Linked DNA regions of Homo sapiens: region 1 is linked to region 2. Evidence: promoter capture Hi-C in human tissues and cell types (Jung and others, 2019). All regions are on one chromosome and are shown on one strand. The core of a region is centred on a gene start or on the middle of the fragment in contact, and the rest is flanking DNA. Distances in the headings are between cores, read along the strand shown. Region 1 overlaps FBXL20 (F-box and leucine rich repeat protein 20). Region 2 holds the start of FBXL20 (F-box and leucine rich repeat protein 20).

Evidence for each region. The method cuts DNA at HindIII sites, captures the fragments that hold promoters and counts their contacts. A contact is called where the count stands out against the background at its distance.
Region 1: a contact is called between a fragment that was not itself captured here and the fragment with the promoter of FBXL20 in region 2, in 1 of the 25 tissues and cell types used here (adrenal gland).

The regions. Positions count from the first base shown.
Region 1 is chr17:39,356,295-39,359,250 of GRCh38, forward strand. All of the region lies in intron 1 of FBXL20 (F-box and leucine rich repeat protein 20), which reads right to left. Among named protein-coding and RNA genes, the nearest start is that of FBXL20, 44 kb to the right of the region's middle. RefSeq lists an enhancer at 2,822-2,956. The HindIII fragment of the contact is 4,338 bases long and covers 1-2,956 here.
Region 2 is chr17:39,400,277-39,402,976 of GRCh38, forward strand. FBXL20 (F-box and leucine rich repeat protein 20) reads right to left here and starts at 1,350. Exons shown (of 15, transcript NM_032875.3): 1 at 1,085-1,350. The coding sequence starts at 1,126. RefSeq lists silencers at 603-895, 960-1,389, 1,420-1,619, 1,650-1,729, 1,980-2,369 and 1 more. The HindIII fragment of the contact is 13,208 bases long and covers 1-2,700 here.

The DNA of each region.
Region 1 (2,956 bases), core at 54-2,553, 44 kb before region 2:
ATGTGGTATGAGGTGAGAGCACAACTTCATCTGTCTGCATGCAGATATACAATTGTTTCACCACCATCTGTTTTGTTTTGAGACAGGGTTTCACTCTGTCACTGAGGCTGGAGTACAGTGGCACAATCATGGCTCACTGCAGCCTCAACTTCTTGGGCTCAAGTGATCATCCCATCTCAGCCCCCCAAGTGGCTGGGACTACAGGTACATATCACCACGCTCAGCTATTTTTTCTATATTTTATAGAGACGGGATTTCGCCATGTTGCCTAGGATAGTCTTGAACTCCTGGACTCAAGCAATCTGTCTGCCTTGGCCTCCCAGGCGGCTAGGATTATAGGCATGAGCCCCTGCGCTCGGCCTACATTTGTGTTTGTTTTGAGACAGGGTATCACTCTGTCACCCAGGGTGGAGTGCAGTGGTGCAATCACCTCTCACTGCAGCCTTGACCTCCCAGGCTCAAGCAATTCTACCACCTCTGCCTCCTGAGAAGCTGGAACTACGGGTGCGTGCCACCACACCTGGCTAATTTTTTTTTTTTTAATTTTGCAGTAGAGACAAGGTCTCACTATGTTGCCCAGGCTAGTCTTAAACTCCTAAACTCAAGAGCTCCTCCCACTTTGACCTCCCAAAGTGCTGGGATTACAGGCATGAGCTATCGTACCCAGCCCCATTTGAAATAGTCTTTAAAGCAAATGGGGCTGGGTCCAATGGCTCATGCCTGTAATCCCAGCACTTTGGGAGGCCAAGGCGGGTGGATCACCGAGGTTGGGAGTTCGAGACCAGCCTGACCAACATGGAGAAACCTCGTCTCTACTAAAAATACAAAATTAGCCGGGCGTGGTGCTGCATGTCTGTAATCCCAGCTACTTGGGAGGCTGAGGCAGGAGAATCACTTGAACCCGGGAGGAGGAGGTTGAAGTGAGCCAAGTTCGTGCCACACTGCACTCCAGCCTAGGCAACAAGAGCAAAACTCTGTCTCAAAAAAAAAAAAAAAAAAGACTTTTTTTGCCCAGTTGAATTGCTTTAGTACCTTAATCAAATATCACTTGACCATAAATGTTGGCATTATTTCTAGACTCTCAATACTGTTCCATTAATCTATACATATATCTTTATGTCAACAATTCACTGTCACTGTTAGGCATGCCTCTCATTCTGTATGTTTTCTCTGTCTCATATCTTTTGTTCTTCTGTTCCTTTTATATTGCCTTCTGGTATCTTAAACAGTTTTATAATTATCATCTTACGCGAAACCCCCTTTATTTCTTGAGACAGTGTCTTACTATGTCACCCAGGCTAGAGTGCGGTGGCACAAACATAGCTCACTGCAACCTCCAACTTCTGGGGCTCAAGCGAAGCTGCCTCAGCCTCCCAACGTGTTGCGACTACAGGTGAGTCACCATGCCCAGCTGGCAAATGCCTTTAATTCAGTCAAGATAATAAAAGAAACATTTACTTATTGTCGTTCATATTTACCTCTGAAATTAACTTCTGCTCTTCTTTTTCTTCAAGTTACCATCTGGTACCATAGCGTTTCATTTCAGCTTGAAGTACTTCCTTTAGTAAGGCAAGCCTGCTAACAAATTCTCTCAGTATTTGCTTATCTGGAAACGTTTTTATTTTGCCTCAACTTTTGAACAAAGTATTAGTTCAGGTTTTCCAGAGAAACAGAAACAATTACATATATATAAACTCTTCTCATACATATGCATATGAAGAGATTTATTATAAGAACTGTCTCACAGAAAGCTTATAATGTAATCCAGTCAGAGTCCAAAGGCCTAACTAAGAACCAGAAGTGGAGGTGAGGCAGTATTACCAGCGTCCAAAGGCCAGAACAGGAGCTCTGATGTCCAAGGAAAAGAGAAAATGAATGTCTCAGCTCAAGGAGAGGCAGTATTCTCCCTTCCTCCACCTTTTTGTTTTATTCAGGCCCTCAGCTGATTGGATGATGCTGGCCCACACTGGTGAGGGCGGATCTTTCTTTACTCAGTCTACTGATTTAAATACTAACCTCTTCCACAAACACCCTCACAGACACACCCAGAAATAATGTTTTACTAGCTATTCGGGCATCCCTTAGCCTTCTCAAGATGGCATATAAGGCCAGGAGCAGTGGCTCATGCCTGTAATCCTAGCGCTTTGGGAGGCTGAGGTGGGTGGATCACTTGAAGTTAGGAGTTTGAGACCAGCCTGGCCAACATGGCGAAACCCTGTCTCTTCTAAAAATACAAAGATTATCCGGGCGTGGTGGCGTACGCCTGTAATCCCACCTACTCAGAGGCTAAGGCAGGAGAATCACTAGAACCCTGGAAGTGGGGGTTGCAGTGAGCTGAGATCAAACCACTGCACTCCAGCCTGGGCAACAGAGTGAGACTCTGTCTCAAAAAAAAACAAAAAAACAAAAAAACAAACAAAAAAAACACCTCTCAGTAGAAACAATAACAACACTATCAACAGAATGAAAAGACAACCTACACATTAGGAGAAAATATTTGCAAATATCTATCTCAGGAGTTAACACCCAGAGTATATAAAGAAATCCTACAAACTGAAAAACAAACAAAAAACAATCCAACTAAAAAATGGGCAAAAGGCTTGAATATTCAGACGTTTCACCAAAGAAAATATACAAGGGACCGATAAGCACATGAAAAGATGCTAAACATCACTAATCATTAGAAAAATGCAAATCAAAACCACAAGATACCACTTCACAATCATTAGGAAGGCTATTTTCTAAAACAAAAAATCTGGCAAGGCGCAGTGGCTCACGCCTATAATCCCACCACACCACTTTGGGAGGCTGCTGAGGCGGGCTGATCGCCTGAGCTCAGGAGTTTGAAACCAGCCTGGCCAACCCCATATCTACAAAAAAAATATAAAAAATTAGCGTGGCGGCACGCACTTGTACCTGTAGTCCCAGCTACTTGGGAAACTGAGGCAGGAAAATG
Region 2 (2,700 bases), core at 100-2,599:
ATAATAAGAAATCAAAGAATAGATTAAACTGACAACCCTTAAAAGTTTTCACACCCTGAACCTAGTTGTCGAGTTTCTTAAACTTTTGTCTCGCCGTCTTACAATTTCATCTCTCAAATGGAGATGAAGAAAAACACCGAGTGAGATTGTCCACTGAGCTGTGAGTGATCCCAGGTCAGCCTGGTTCTCTGCCAGAAAAGACCAGGTGACATTTACTCTTCCTGTAGAAGTTTCTTTCTCTTGACCCTCAAGGAACCTTCCAGTATATTGTTATACTACTGTAATTCATCAGTAGTTACAATATTTCACTTCCCAAAGGAATCTCTTCCTTGCAAGATGACTACTCTCTAAAGACGCTTTCAAGACCGTCCACTCCTCAATTCCAGGACAGTAAACCTCCCTCGCTAGAGGAGAAAAAGTTCCTGAAAGACAGACCGGAATGGATTTGCTGAACTTTCGTCCCAATCTCAAAGCATGTAGACATCCAAGGGTTCCCAAGGAACAATGAGCTACAGAAGTACAGACTAAACGGGAAAGCAGAGGAAGTATCAGAACAATACCCAAACCAAACACAGCACCGAAAACCCGTGGTAGCCTCTATCATCCCAAACTACCGTCCCCACTTCCCTAGTTTCACCAAGGTCTCAAACTCGGAGAAATGGTACCCATCCCCTAATTTCCTCCCTCAACAGACAACAAACGCGTCATGAAGGTAGCAGCGAGAAAAGCAGCAGGCTCTGGTGGACCGGAGCCGTGATGGCTGGGTGGAAGGAGGCAAGCCAAGGGTTGTGTAAAGAATGGAAAGCTGAGCGATCCTGGAGGAGGGTGGAATTAGGGCGCCCGAGCTAATCCCCCGCGGGGGCCCGCTGGTGGGAAGAGACGGGGGGCGAACCGGCGAGGGGACTGGGGGCACCGGGCTGCGCTGGGCTTCTGGGTCGCAAGAAAGGGGAGCGGAGTCTGGCAGCCCCGCCAGTGGGTGGGTGACGGCGCCTGCCAGGGAGGAGGCTCCGTGCGGAGCGGACGTTTTGGGATTAGAGCGCGCGACCCGCCCTCCTCACGCCGCCCGAGCCCCCCAAGCTCACACCTCAAACCTGCTCTTGGTCACTCCGTTCACGTCCCTCCTCATGGGGCCGGCGGGTGCGGCCCGGGCCGGGCGCTGCGGCGAGCGGAGTGCACAGACCGGGGGCCCAGGACAGGCCCGGGAGTTCCGGGACGGGGACTGGGCGCCGGAGGGGTGACGCCGGGACCGTGGGACGGGAACAAGAGACCTCTCGGCTCCGGCTAGGCCTCCACCACCTCCCGCGGCGCCGGCGGCCGCAACGACTGCTCGTCGCTAGCTCGGCTCTCTCCTCAGCCTCAACTTCAACCCAAAACAAAAACACTCCCCACCTGCCAGCAACGCCGCTGCTCATTGGACAGAGCCGCCCGGGCCTCGGAGCGCCCGGGAGGGGGAGGGGCGGGAGGGGAGGAGCGCGGCGGCGGCGGCGCGAGACCACCCCTCCCCCACACGGGGCCGGCCCTGACGGCGCTCCCGGGAGCAGCCGGTGCGCGGCGGCGGCACGACCCCCTGCGCCTCCGAGGCAGACGAGCCCATCGGGAGAAGGCGAGGCAGGGAAGTGCCTGTGCGTGTGGAAAAGGGGGTCTGTGGGGCGGATGCGAGTGCGCGCGTGCTCGCGGACCAGCGAGGGAGAGTAGAGCAGTACCGCACTCTGCGCGGGGGCCCCTCTTCTGCCCCGTGTCCCCCTCTCCTCCCTCCGCGGGCAAACAGGCACGCACCTGCCTGCACAGAACCTCAGCCTCTGCCCGCGCCCGTCGCCCCTCGTCACTTGTTCCCCAGGATCCTGTAAGGCACCCGCATCCTTCCCGGCCACCCAGCTCCCTTCCCCTGTCACTCACTGTCGCCTTGAACCCAAAGTGCAGCAGGCGGTCCCTGCTCGGAGCCATTTTCCTCCTCTTCTGGATGTGTCTAGATTGGGGCAGTGCGGCTGCCGCCGCGCCTCCGCGGTTGCCGCCGCCGCCGCCTCCCCCGCCTCCCCCGCCCCAGTGCATTACATTACGGGGTGCTGCAGGGAGGCCTGGGGGGCCGGGGCCGGACGCTTGTCTCCCTGTGCATGGCTCGGGAGGGCGAGGGTGGTTGCGCTGAGCAACAGGCCAAGTGCCCGCCCTGGTCCGGGGATGGCTGCGGAGCTGCACCTGAGGCCGGGGGTCGGGGGTGCAGGGCTGGAGCCGGGCAACCCTTCCTTTGGCCGGGGTCGGGGCGCGCGTCCGTGGGGGTGGGGCGGGCGAGACCGAAGAGCCTTTGGTTTTCCTTGCTCGGCCGCCGCCGGCGCCCAATGGGCTGCAGCGCCTGCCTGTCCGCCAATCAGGGCGCTGTTTGGTGAGAGCTTCGGCCTGACGTCACTTTGGCGGGAGAAACAAGCGTGTGTGAGCGAGTAGGCGGGGGCGTTTTCCCGATGGAAACACTTCATCAGACTCCCGGGCTCCTTGTATAGAAGCTGATCTGTGTCATCATATTATATTATGTTTTAACAACTCTGGCCTTCAAGGTCTCAGAATTTATGACCGAATTTCCACGAAGGAATAACACAGGATTTTGTAGTTTTGTTGCCCCTTCTATGAGCAACAAACTACAAAATTATGTCCTAAGAGTGAACTATTAGAAACTGTATAATAAATTCCAGCACACCTGGCAGGAGCAGC